4 separate regions of the Homo sapiens genome follow, and all the other regions are linked to region 2. The links are contacts of gene promoters, found by promoter capture Hi-C in blood cells and fetal thymus (Javierre and others, 2016). All regions are on one chromosome and are shown on one strand. Each heading gives the region's core, a stretch centred on a gene start or on the middle of the fragment in contact. The rest is flanking DNA. Distances are from core to core; before and after follow the strand shown. Region 1 overlaps TRPC3 (transient receptor potential cation channel subfamily C member 3). Region 2 holds the start of BBS12 (Bardet-Biedl syndrome 12). Region 3 overlaps TRPC3 (transient receptor potential cation channel subfamily C member 3). Region 4 overlaps TRPC3 (transient receptor potential cation channel subfamily C member 3).

What was found. The method cuts DNA at HindIII sites, captures the fragments that hold promoters and counts their contacts. A CHiCAGO score of 5 or more calls a contact.
Region 1: a fragment that was not itself captured here is called in contact with the fragment with the promoter of BBS12 in region 2 in 11 of 17 cell types (total CD4 T cells, non-activated CD4 T cells, total B cells and 8 more); the score reaches 9.9 in total CD4 T cells.
Region 3: a contact is called between a fragment that was not itself captured here and the fragment with the promoter of BBS12 in region 2, in 1 of 17 cell types (total CD4 T cells). The highest score is 6.4, in total CD4 T cells.
Region 4: a fragment that was not itself captured here is called in contact with the fragment with the promoter of BBS12 in region 2 in 6 of 17 cell types (naive CD4 T cells, total CD8 T cells, naive CD8 T cells and 3 more); the score reaches 12.4 in naive CD4 T cells.

The regions. Positions count from the first base shown.
Region 1 is chr4:121,880,509-121,883,721 of GRCh38, forward strand. TRPC3 (transient receptor potential cation channel subfamily C member 3) reads right to left here. Exons shown (of 12, transcript NM_001130698.2): 11 at 1,846-1,921. Among named protein-coding and RNA genes, the nearest start is that of BBS7-DT, 11 kb to the left of the region's middle. The HindIII fragment of the contact is 810 bases long and covers 1,343-2,152 here.
Region 2 is chr4:122,731,216-122,734,696 of GRCh38, forward strand. It overlaps BBS12 (Bardet-Biedl syndrome 12), which reads left to right and starts at 1,489. Exons shown (of 2, transcript NM_152618.3): 1 at 1,489-1,669. It also overlaps the pseudogene CETN4P. RefSeq lists a silencer at 1,159-1,378 and an enhancer at 1,739-1,948. The HindIII fragment of the contact is 1,306 bases long and covers 743-2,048 here.
Region 3 is chr4:121,926,607-121,930,055 of GRCh38, forward strand. All of the region lies in intron 2 of TRPC3 (transient receptor potential cation channel subfamily C member 3), which reads right to left. Among named protein-coding and RNA genes, the nearest start is that of TRPC3, 24 kb to the right of the region's middle. The HindIII fragment of the contact is 235 bases long and covers 1,365-1,599 here.
Region 4 is chr4:121,897,117-121,900,384 of GRCh38, forward strand. It overlaps TRPC3 (transient receptor potential cation channel subfamily C member 3), which reads right to left. Exons shown (of 12, transcript NM_001130698.2): 10 at 2,496-2,579. Among named protein-coding and RNA genes, the nearest start is that of BBS7-DT, 28 kb to the left of the region's middle. The HindIII fragment of the contact is 5,104 bases long and covers 1-3,268 here.

The DNA.
Region 1 (3,213 bases), core at 498-2,997, 850 kb before region 2:
ATATATTCCTGAAGAGAATAGGAGAGTTTGGGCTATAAAAATAAATTGCTCCCATAATTCAGTTTGGCAGTATTTTGAGCATACGTATATTGCAATTAAAAACTGGATTCTCTTCAAGGAGAGGCAGTATTTGGTTAAAAAAGAAAAGAAAAGAAACACTGGATTCTCTTGCAAGTGACCGTAATGTAGATAAACCACTGACCTTCAAAAGTGAATGTTGGAGCAAGAATTTACCTTGAATCTAAGAAATGATTCTTCAAACCATTGACTTAGGTTTTTATAATAAAATGGCATTTAAAACACACCTTTGATGATATTTCCTGGTATCTTTAATATGCTTTAAAGTATAATTTCAATATTCTTCTATTATATAAAAGTCAGAGCATTTTTATTTGAAAAGAATTCTAACTCAGGAATACACACAAAACATTTGAGGAGCCCTTTTGTGGCAAAAAAAAAAAAAAGTGCTTCCTTTGGCATATGGCAATATAAAAGGAATAAACTGATCTTATTTGAAATCATGAGGCAGACTTCAGTGGAAGGAGTGGATTCTCACACCATTCAGTACCGCAGGAGACCCCCTGCCCTACTTCACCTTCTACTATCCTTTCTTCCTTGTCCCCGACTCATGGGGAGACTACAACCTATGTGTTGTATTAAATATTTAATCTGCCAATTCAGGAAACACAAGTTACTCAAACTCTTCAGATTTTAGTTTCCTCATTAATTAAATGAGGAGATTATATGACACATTTTCTTAGTAAGAACTTTGTTCAAAACTCCAAATTCTCATTGATTTTCCCCTTTTGTGCAAGGGCTTGGGAAATGCTTCTTGTTTTTTATGCCGTTTTAGCCATACAGTTCTTCCCACTTTGTTCCTCCCTCTCCACCCCCCATGGAGATTACGGTACAACTCATCAGACTTCTGCTTTCTAAACTACAACCTCATTCCAATCCTTTCTCCTGAGACAGATTGATTAGGTCACCATGATTAGATTTTTGCTAGTTATCGATTATAAATTCACAGGTTTCTCTTCTACATACATACACTATTGGATTGATTTACATTTAAAATGCATTCCTTGTATTAATCAAGTAATGGCTTCAAAGCCTATGAACAATTTTATTAAGTTTAGTCCTTTCCTCTTTTATCAGTGTAGATAGATTTAGTGGCATCTCATTGGTGTTGGAAGGTACAGTTTCCATTTTTAGGGCAACTTATTTCTCCCTGGTTGATTTCTTTCCAACTCTGGGCCTGTGTTTAGCTCTACATCCTAGACTTTGGTAAAAAATTTTTATAGTCCAGAGAGATGCCCTGCCTCAAATATGCCTTAAAAAAATAAGCTTGCTTAAAGTAAGGAGGCAGGGGGGAAAGTGAAATTCAAAAGAGACGCACCAGACAAGAAAAACAGGTTAAAAATGTGTTTCTGAACAATAAAACAGAGGTTTTCCTGAAGACATGAATTCTGTTTGAGTCACTGTTCTTTTATCTGCTTAACTGGAAAAATGTTAACACTAATGTGAACTCATTGAAAATGTAACCAATACTTACTGACTACCTTATGTCAGAAGGATTAAAAAACTCCTAGAAAGATGTCAGTCTTTACATTCTAAGAATCAGTTAGGGCACTATGAGTAGAGATAAATTGCCTCTGATCAATATTGTAAATAACTGTTTATTTTAAAAGATGAAGTTTTAGAAACGTAACATAAGATCCTCCTCCCATCTTAGAGGCATCCAAACTATAACCTGGGATTGGATTTTTAAAATATGCCTCAACATTAAGTTTTCCAGGTTCATTAAGTTAGCTATAAAAGGATATTTTTTAAGTTGGAGATGCTTACCTTCATTAACTTCATCATTTTCTTTGTCTACTTGTGCTTTCAAAACATACCGCTTTATAAGTCTTTTCATTATCTGCTGTTGGGCAAAAGTAAATGATTAGATCTCCAATGATATACATAAGTGCCCCAATCCTATTTTCCAAAGAGGCTTACATACCTGTAAAGCAAACAACTCAGGGGAGAAAAAAATTTTATAACTATGTATAGAAAAATTACGCAGGTTTCAGAACTTAACTCTCTTAATGCCTTCTACTGAGACTTACTGCATAATCCACCAATACTTTTTTTTTGCCTCAGAAACGGAAGAAGCTTTTAAAAAGAAGTTAAGCTTGAAGATTTGAATTCATGGCTCCTCTTTCAACTAATAGTTTCTTTTTAAATTACATTGACACCACATTATCACCCATAGACACTACCTTATTTCCCAGTATTTAGAAAAATACATCAATGTATACTCTATATAGAGAATTTGGAAAATATACAGAAGAACAAAATAAACAAATGAAATCATTGGCAACCTCACCAGCCAAAGATAATCACTGTTTTCATTTTGGTGTATGCCCTTCCAATATCTTTTCTTTAAAATTTGTATATATACTAATTACTGTAAGTATTATATTTTATGTTTTCTAAATGCCATATATTTTGTTATATTGCATACGTTTCTCTAATAGCAATATATGTGACTATTTTCAGTCTAAATAAATGCTCTTCTAGGATAACTGTTTACCCATATGGAAAAAATTAAATTGGAGCCCTATTTCATACCATGAACACAAAAATTAATTCCATTTGCATCTTAAATGTGAAAGACAAAGCTTCTGAACCCTTAAAAGAACGTATTATATAAGAGAGTATATTTATAAATTTGGGGTAGACCTGTATTTTTAAAAAAACAAGATTAAAACTTCTGATTACAATAGAAAAGACTGATAAATTCAACTTCATTACAATTTAAAATTTCTGTTTAAAGAGATACTATAAAGAAAGTGAAAAGGCAAGCCATAAACTGGGAGAAAATATTGGTAATGCTTGTAATTAAAAATAATTTATATCCAAATATATAAAGAACTTTAATTCAATAAGAAAAACTCAAATAACCCGATTTTAAAATGGGCAAAAGACAAACAAATGTTTCACAGAAATGGAAACGTGAAGGGTCAACAAGCTTAAGAAACAATTTCAAACTCTGTTGCAGGGAAATACAAATTATGACTAAAAGGAGACACAATTTTACATCTAATAAAGAGAACGATTAATAAATCTGGTTATGCCAAGTGTTAGAAAGGATATGGATCAATGGGGACTTTTATATTTTACTGGCAAGACTGCAGACAACTTTGAAGACAATTTAGTACTATCTTTTTA
Region 2 (3,481 bases), core at 239-2,738:
AGCTTCAAAATGGAAGGTTGTATCTTTCAATGCTCCTTAGAATAGTGCCTGGCAAAAATAGGCATTCAATATATGTTGCTGAATTAAAGGCTTCCAAATTCTGGCCCCATTCTCTCTATCCTGCAATATAGCCTCATTATTTCCTGACAAAAACCTCTTCTCCACATCATAGTCTTCTCATTACTACCCTGAAAACATATTTAATCTTGCTCTTCCTATCTCCCATCCTTAAAAACCTAGTTCTAATTGCTTCTCTATAAAACTTCTGATTGCTCCAGCCCTAAAATGTAGCAGGTTATTGCTAGTATTTCTTTGAAAAATAAAATCATAACTATATCATTTTTATACTCATAATGGCAAAAAAAAATCTTCAAAACTAATGGTGCCAATTCCTTCTTTATCAACTTCAGCTACCATTTTTTAAATTTCTTCTTTCTTTGGTTCAAATCCTAAGGCCCACACTGCAATCTGAAATAGGAAGAAAAGGAATTATAATATGCCATGATTTCTTTCTAAGCTTTTTAACTCCCTATTAAGAGCTTCTCTCTTTTCTATTATGGACTGAGCATAAACAGAAAATTAGGTCAGCAGGCCTGTGTTTCAGTCCTACTGTGCCATCATGTACATCACTGTTACACCCTGGGCTTTTGCCTACTCATTTATAAAACACAATTAAAATGCTTAACAAGATATCGTTTTGCTAATGCAGGGCAGGCATATGCACTGAAGAGACTTTATATTAAGCTTTCAGAAGACTACTTTTAAAGAAAGCCTTAAAGATTGCCACAAATAATATGGTTTTTAAAATGATTTAGAATTAGAAATAATTTCAGAACCTTCTTTTACATCGATGGTTCCAGACCCATCAATATCAAATAAATTAAAGGCGTCTTTAATTTCTTGCTTTTGGGATTCATTCAGTTCAATTTTTGCTGCTCTTTTCTTCCATTGGTCTGAACTTGTATGGTAGTTAGATGCCTGTAATACACACACATATGGGTGAAAGATAAATTATATAACTGGAATAGTTAGCAGAACCAGAATAATTGATGATAAACTATATTAAAGTACCTATTTCCTACTATAAAATGAATCTCAACAGGAGTAAGGAAGGAGTGCAGTTGCTGCCAGGGGCAGCCTTCCTTGCTCTGGCGGAAAAACTTCGGCCCCGGCCCCAGCAGAAGGTTACAGCTTCACACTCACCAGGTCCCCAGCCGGCAGCCGGCGCTCTCAGCCGGGACCTCCCGGCGTCACCTCCCGCAGCCCCGCCCAACCCAAGTCTTCACAGCTCACTGGCGGTTGCTAAGGCCGCTCTCACCGACCTCTCTCAGCCCCGCCCACCCAGCCTGAGTTATTGACATCCAGTTCATCCAATGGACAGAAAAAAAGGCCTTTAAACCAGCCCTTTCTCTCTACTCCCTACCAATAGCGTGACGTCCCCGCCTTTCGCAGCCCGGCGTTAAGCGGAACTTCTCTCTCCAGCTGTGTCTCTTAGCAACTAAGCCCCCGGCTCCTCCAGAAGCCCCTCTTCGCACATGCGCAAACTGCGGACGGGGAACTGGGCTCCCTAGCCCTGGCGTTTTTGGTGTTGCTGTCCCAGCCAGAATCGCGTCTGGCCGGTGGGAAGCCGGGAACTCCAGCCCCCTGTAGGAGAGGAGAAAGGAGCGAGGTTAGTAGTGAGGTGCTTCCGCTGACTGCTAAGCTAAGTCTTTCCTGAAGACGTGGGAGCCCGTGTGTTTGATTTTTCTGTCCTCTTCGGGCCAGGGAAAGAATGAGAATCTAGGGCCTGGAGGTCCTGGGGTGAATTGGTCCAGCATGTGGCTAGGAGTACTAGAGGAAGAGGGGACTGCCCTTTCTTTTTGCCGCTAGACTTTCCTCATTTTCTACAGTGCCTGGAGCTGGGCCTTCAGCCATTTACCTCCTCCCTGTTTTGGGCAGGGATTCTGGCATGGTAGACACCAGAATTCTGTATAGCAGTGGCATGGGGTAACAGTGTCGTTGGAGGGACGTGGGTATTGGGATAAGCATGGGTCTTGGGATGTATTTAAAGCTTCACTACATACATAGATAAACGTTTTTACATGTTTCGTGTAGCATTTGTTTACGAGGTAGGACTTTGGCCCCACCCATAATTACTATCGGACCCCGCCCTCCAACCCCAACACACACACACACACACACACACACACACACACACACACACACACACATCCAGCCATTTCCTTGGCCCAGTCCTAAGATTTGGCCAGTTGTCAACGATATCAACTTGATCTGCACTTCAGAGTCAGACACAGGTAGTCTGATTATCCAGTTGATTCAGTAACGGCCTAGATTTAGATACTTGTGAAACTTTTGTAAACCAACTCAATCTCTTGTCCAGAGGGCCAGATTTACTGCTTCTGCCCGTTCTGAATTTGGCCAGGAATCAGCTTAAAGGACAGGGGAGAAAGACTGAGGTAGGATGGACCACTGACTTCCTGGTGGGAATGAAGGAATGAGAGAATCTTAAAACTTCTAACCTTTAATTGCTCACACATGCGGACCCCTTTTATGCCTCCTACAATGTCTTCTCTAGAGGAAATATTTTCTAAAAATTATACTGGATTCTTCAAAAATGGATTCAGGAAGAATACTAACTTTAGTCTTTTTTTTTTTTTTTTTTTTTTTGTCTCACTTATCTTCCTGAAGGCAGGAGAGGAAAACAAGTGCAAAGTGCATTCTTGAAGCACTCTGTCAAATCACTTTTCATGCTTCATTGAGTAGAAACATGGCACATTTTCCAAAGCCATCAGCCTGTCTTGTTCATATTATATCCCAGACAGACACGCAAGTATTGTAATCATTGATAAAAATCTCATTAGGCTTCTGGAAAATAGGTAAGTTTATCCTCATATTGCAGGTGATTTTTCCATATAAAGTTACCCAGTGAAAATTAAAATGGCACAAATCCAAGATAATTTTTGAGTTAAGTAAAATGTGGTCACTTTAATATATGATTTTTCACGTCATTTATCTCACTTGGAAAGTTGCTCTTGATCAGTTTCAAGGTCATACACTTTTTTTTTTTTGAGACCGAGTCCTGCTCTGTCGCCCAGGCTGGAGTGCAGTGGCTCAATCCCGGCTCACTGCAAGCTCCACCTCCCGGGTTCTCGCCGTTCTTCTGCCTCAGCCTCCCGAATAGCTGGGAGTACAGGCGCCCGCCACCGCGCCCGGCTAATTTTTTTGTATTTTTAGTAGAGACGGAGTTTCACCGTATTAGCCAGGATGGTCTCCATCTCCTGACTTCATGATCCGCTCGCCTCGGCCTCTCAAAGTGCTGGGATTACAGGCGTGAGCAACTGCGCCCGGCCATATACTTCATTTTTAATACTAATATTAAAAGGATTTCTTAGACCCAGAAATGAATAGTGACCAAGTATATACTCAACCCAATCCTAATTTCGAGGATCTCTTGGATCATGTTTGATCTAATGACAATTAA
Region 3 (3,449 bases), core at 232-2,731, 800 kb before region 2:
ATATTGGCCAGACTGGTCTTGAACTCCTGACCTCAAATGATCCACCCACCTGGGCCTCCCAAAGTGCTGGGATTACAGGCATGAGTCACCGCACCCGGCCTCATTTTCTTTTAGAGAACCTCTCTCTCTGTTATTTAGGTTGACAGTGAAAAATAACTTGTCCAGTTCATTATCCCTTGCCTTACTGGAGACATTGCTTCTCAAAGTGTAGTCCTCAGACCAGCAGCATCAGCAGCACCTGGGCATGTGTTAGAAATGCAAATTCTCAGACCCCAGCCCACATGTCCTGATTTAGAAACTGAGGAAGGGCCCAGCAATCTCTGTGTGTTTTCACACACCCTTCAGATGATTCTGATACATGTTAAGTTTGAGAATAACTGGTTTATAGCGAATGTAGAGAGGTAGATGGATACCCACCTGTATACAGAGGGTTTTTTGTTTGTTTGTTTGTCTGAAGGGCATATTACTGTGCCCTGCAGAACTAGAAGAAGAGAAATATATCACTGTATGTAACTGAATTCTCAAGGGTTACAGAATTCAGTACCTGAGAGAAAAATTTCCAGGCCACTGGAACTAACACATTGCTAAAAATAATCCGTGAATCTTTAATTTCATTTGCATATTTATACACTGCCATGGACTGCCATAAGGAAGTCAGCTGGTAGCATTCCTTGTTGCCTTCTGAATGGAGCTTTATTTCTAGTCCATTTGTTCTAATGAAGGTGTCAATGACCATCTCCTGAGAAAGTATCTCATTTTTGGAGACTCCAGTTCTACTTTTATGACTTTCACTAAAATTCTAGCCTATTAGGAAAGGTAACCAGATAATAATCTAATGTGAAATGCTTGAGGAAAACAGAATTTCCCATTGTAACATGTCCTGAGACATTGTATGTGTCCATATTACTAAGTAATATTTGGCTCAGCAGAATTACTGGGCTTCCAAAAATCATACTTTAAAAAAGACATGTGAAAAATTTCAATTTTTTTCCTTTAAATAATTAACGTGATTTGATGAGCAAAACCACGTCATCAGCTAAAATAAACAAGAAGAAGAGAGACTGTTTAAAGGCTACACAGATTAGAATAGTTTCCATTTCAGATATGAGAAATTCAGATAAAGAACAGTTACAGTTAATCCTTTTCCCTTCGTAAGGGAACAGATAAAATGAATAAAACTTCAATCTTTAGTTTCCATTCAAGTTGGTACCATGCAACTGATAAAATTAATAAAATGTTCAGTCTCTGGTTTCTGTGCAGAGTGTCAGTTAAATATCCATCTGCTTTCCATTCCTGAAAGACTAATGAAACATTTTATTATAGCATCCAGAAGAAGTATTAAATCCATGCCTGTTTCCATATAAAGCTTCCCTTTTAATATAATTTTTTTAGATGAAATTTCCTCATGTTATTCTTCAGTTCAGACTGTTCTGTAAGATTTGGTACAACATAGGGTGGTTATTTCTCCACTGATCAGAAATAAAAAGAGGCTACCTTCCGTGCTTTGAAGAACACTTAGTACCCACATCTGTAGTAATACCTAAATAATGACTCATTACCTATAAAATTATAGTCTATAAACTGTTTAGTTTTAAGGAAAGCTTTTTTCACATCCACTGAAAGATCAATAAAGATAAAAAAACTGATAATCAAACATGTTGCAAGGACAGCACTACTTGTTTTTATAACAATTTAAACATTTCCCACTTGAAGAAGTCTGTTGCCAGAGTGCAGAAAATAATCAGAGCTGGAGATAATGGTGATTTCTTTTGTTATAGTCATTGGATACCATTTTTTAAACCTATGCAGAGTTCCGTGGGAAAGATGGAGAACTCCAGCTAAGAACAGCCTCTCTTCAGCTGCAAAAGCAACCATCTATGTAAAGTTCACATTGACTGTTAGTTCCACCTTGAGGCCGCATTGACTGTTAATTCCACCACGTTACTTCACAGATCAGACCATTTGTCTGGTCTACATTTTCTAATAAGTTTATCTTAAGTTAGTTTTGCATAATGGTCTTTAATATACTGCTCATCTATTACCACAGCCCTCCACAGTTAGCTGGTGGACCTACTGCACACCTTATAGAGCAGAACTTAAAACCCTAAGGATCTGCTCAAGCCAGAGGAAGAACAATGAAGTTCAGTCTTCATCACAATCTATCTACAGGTTCTGCACACTCCTTTTAATGTATATGTTTAATTACCATTCTAATCCTTTTTTATCCTGAAGTGGAAAACTGAAATTCAACTCTTAACAGGCTTGGTTCTGTCAGGCTCTTTCCCTAATAACAAAAGAGGCAAGTTATCATACTGATTAAAAGCATAGAGTCTGAAGCCAGACTTCCTGGGTTCAAATACTGCTTTACCACCTACTAGCTGTGTGATATTGTGGAATTCACTTTACCTCTCTGACATGAATAATCCTACCCAATATTGGTACTATGAGGATTAAATGCTTAGAATGTGTTTGGTACAAATTAGGTGCTAAGAAGTGCTTCAATATTACCAGGTACATTATATTAGATATAATACCTACGACTGGGACTCAAGACACTCAAATCTAGGCTTAACATATGAAATGTTGCCTACAGCCTTTGTTTTCTCTTTTACAAAGTGAAAGATGATTCCTAGAGTATTTTCCTGCTATAAAATGTCACCTTGCTTTTGGATTATATTCATTTTTTTTCTTCCTTACAGCTGTAGTGTGATATAAGGTGAAATTGTTTTTTTACTTTAAGGAGAGGAAAACTGAGGCACAGGGAAGCAAACGCCTCTCCCTACTTCTTTATTTTTACAAAAAAGGTGCGTCATTGACTCAGTCAGAACTAGAAAATTTCAGTTTGCGTCCTCACAGCTTAATAAATGACTGGCTTCCTTGCCACTGACATTTTGGAGGATTAGACCAAGAGTCTATCTTTCCAATATTCTGTTTCTCAGAATAGCTTCAAACAGCATTTGCACATCCAAAATATTTCTTTAATAACCTGTCACCGAGCTATCCTCCATTAATTTATCTAAATCTGTATCCTAGAATATTTGACCTCTTAGGGTATTGACCTTCACATGTTTTAAACACCATACCTACTGTATTCCTCAAAGAAATGTGAAAACTGCAGAGTGGCTGAGAATCTTCTCTGAAGCATCTAAATAATGGCAATTTCGGGGGTGAGATACTAGATATTATAGGCCATTGATAAGATAAAATAAATATAGGTGTCTTAAAAGGAAAAAAAATCACCTCTTTTTCACTAGGAAAAAATTTTTTTTTTTAATTTCAAGGCTAATACTTTGAGCTCAAAGTCCCCATGGGAAGAATATAGCGAACACCATGGAATAGGGCAAATTAGGTTACCTGCTTGTCTCAGAAATGAGCTTCACTTTTGCTGCCCTTTCAGAGCTCAGAGTCTCAGGGTCAGTGCTATGAAAGCACTATTTTCTCTGTCTGTC
Region 4 (3,268 bases), core at 285-2,784, 830 kb before region 2:
TCTCACCTTGTATAAAAATCAGGGCAAAATGGACCAAAGACCTAAATGTAAGACCTGAAATGATAAAACTAGTAGAAAAAAACATAGGAGAAATGCTTCAGGACACTGGTCTGGGAAAATATTTTATGAACAAGACCTCAAAAGCAGAAGTAACAAAAGCAAAAATAAACATATGGGATCATACCAAACCAAAGGCTTCTTGGTTTGGTTCATACCAACAAAGGAAAAAACAACAGTGAAAAGACAGCCTACAAAATTGGAGAAAATATTTGCAAATTGCTCATCCAATAGGGGATTAATATCCAGAATATACAGGGAACTCAATCATCTCAACAGCAAAAAAAAAAAAAAAAAAAAAAAAAAAAAAAAAAAAAAATTCCAATTAAAAATGGGCAAATAATCTGAACAGACATTTCTCAAAAGAATACATACAAATGGTCAATGATATATGAAAAAATGCTCGACATCACTAACCAAACCACAATGAGGTTATCATCTCACTCCAGTTAGAATGTCTACTATCAAAAAGACAAAAAAAAAATGCTGGTAAGAATGCAGAGAAAGGGAACTCTAATATGTTGTTGATGGGAATGTAAACTAGTACAACCATTATGTAGAACAGTATGGAGGATTTTCCAAGAACTACAAATAGAGCTACCATATGATCCAGCAACCCCACTACGGGAATTTATCTAAAGGAAAAGAAATCATTATATCAAAGAGACAACTGCACCCACATGTTTTATTGCAGCACTATTCACAATATTCAAAATATGAAATCAACCTAGGTGTCTAACAGCAGATGAATGTATAAAAAATGTAGTATATATACACAACGGAATGCAATTCAGCTATAAAAAAGATTGAAATCCCATCATTTGCAGCAACATGGATGGAACTGGAGGACATTATGTCAAGTGAAATAAGCCAGGAACATAAAGTTAAGCACCGCATGTTCTAACTCATAAACTCATATGTGGAAGCTAAAAAAAGTTGATCTCACAGAGGTAAAATGTAGGACGAAGGATACTAGAGACTGGGAAGGGTAAGGGGTAGGGAGGGATATGGAGAGATTTGTTAAAGGATACAAAATTACCGCTAGATAGGAGGAATAACTTCTAGTGTTCTACACCAGGAGTCCCCAACCCGCAGATGAAGGACTGGCATCTGTCCGTGGCCTGTCAGGAACCAGGCTGCACAGCAGGAAGTGACAGGCTGGCAAGCGAGCATTACCGCTTGAGCTCCACCTCCTGTCAGATTAGCAGCGGCATTAGATTCTCCTATTATTGTGAACCCTATTGTGAACTGCACATGTGACAGATCTAGGGTGTGCACTCCTTATGAGAATCTAATGCCTGAAGAGCCTGAAGATCTGAGGTGGAACACTTTCACCCTGAAACCATCATTCCACCCCATCTGTGAAAAAATTGTCTTCCACAAAACCGGTCCCTGGTGCCAAAAAGGTTGGGGACCACTGTTCTATACCACTATAGCATGACCATAGTTAACAATGATATATTAATATTATATAGTTTCATATAGCTAGAAGGAGGATACTGAATGTTACCAACACAAAGAAATGATAGATGTCTGAGATGATGGATATGCTAATTACCCTGATCTGATTCCTACATATGTATCAAAACATCACTATGTAGACAATGAGTAAGTATAATTATTTATCAATTAAAAATAAAGTTAGACAAAACCAATAAAACAAAAATAAACAAATATGTAAAATTTACAAAAATTTTCTTAAAAAAAAGACTTTGACAATCAGTGGGCTGAGCCATTTTGTGGTTTCCTGCTTCTAAAAAAATTGGATAAAAAATAGAACAATACGCAGTAACGGACATCACCAATATATTATAAATTCCTTGATCGTCACTTTTGTGAACTTATACACATTAGAAAGTCAAAGACTTGATGATCGAAATGATCAACGAGATGAAAAACAAAGGGCTATAACTTCCCCTGAGTTGGAGAATAGTGTTCAAATGTCACATCCAGTATCAAAATGCAAAAGATATTTTAAAGTAGCACTCATGAAACAGTATAGCCAAACAATCCATTTAAAAAATGGATCACCTGAAAGAAAAACCTAGAGAAAAAACAAGTTTTCCTGCCATGGGAGCATTATTCATTCTAACATACTCTGTCTTCTACTGCTTTCTCCAGTTTAAGTTATACATTATTTGGCAATTGTAGCAACACTTTGCTTTCAATATTGTGAGAGGAACTCTTAGTTAAAAAAATGAAGGACTTGGACTCTGATTTCTAAAGTCTCCTCCAACTAACATACTATTTTCTTTTATTTTTAATTTTTTTTTAAAAAATTTCACAGGTGTTGAATCATTTTCTTTGTTCTGAACTATCCTCATGGTATAATGGTATATCTCAAGAATATAACTCAACTCATGACACACACACAAACACACACGCAGACATATATGGAATCACATAGAGATCAAGAGATACGTCTAATGAATGCTTACCTGATAACGTGTTGGCTGATTGAGAATGCTGTTAAAACTGTGTGATTCAAAAACTCTTGAGTTAGACTGAGTGAAGAGGTTTAACTAGGAAAAAATACAATTAACCTAGTAAATTAGAATACATTCATTTGGAATAAAAAATATAATCCATTTATTCTCCTTGATAACATTTCTGGAGTCAACATTCCCAAGAAACATTTTGTGGAAGTTGAGCTTTGTAAGTGATGTAATATATTCCCAAAGGTTAAAATTACTGTGAGCAATATGCTCACATTTATCAAAATGTTGGCAGGATGTACTACTGTAATAGAACTATTTAATGGAAAATATATGTTAAAAATTGGCTCATAATAAACATAATTTTCCCTGGGGACCTTGTATACTTTATCAAAATGTACTCAAGGCATCTAGAAGGCCAAATTCCATAGAAGTTTGATCTGTTCCTGAGCCTAAGTTCCTCTTCTAGATTTGAATAGAAACATATTGCAGGTTCAGATGGCACCATTTGGTATTTTGCAGCCCTAAAATATTAGCCAAAATAACACATCTTCCAAAGCATCTTGGCCTTATGCTAAGCCAGGTTCACAATTTTGGAGAGAATTGGGCTAAAGAATTTTGGTTTCCTTTTCTTTTCTCTCTTTTTCTTTTTAAGGTTTAGCTTTTGAGTGGGTAGGAACAGGAAGCAAGAGGAACACACAGGTAATACCTAGTCTTCATGTATACGAGCAGGGCCTCTTATCTGTGGCCAAGCTCTGCCACTGTAAGGTGTGATT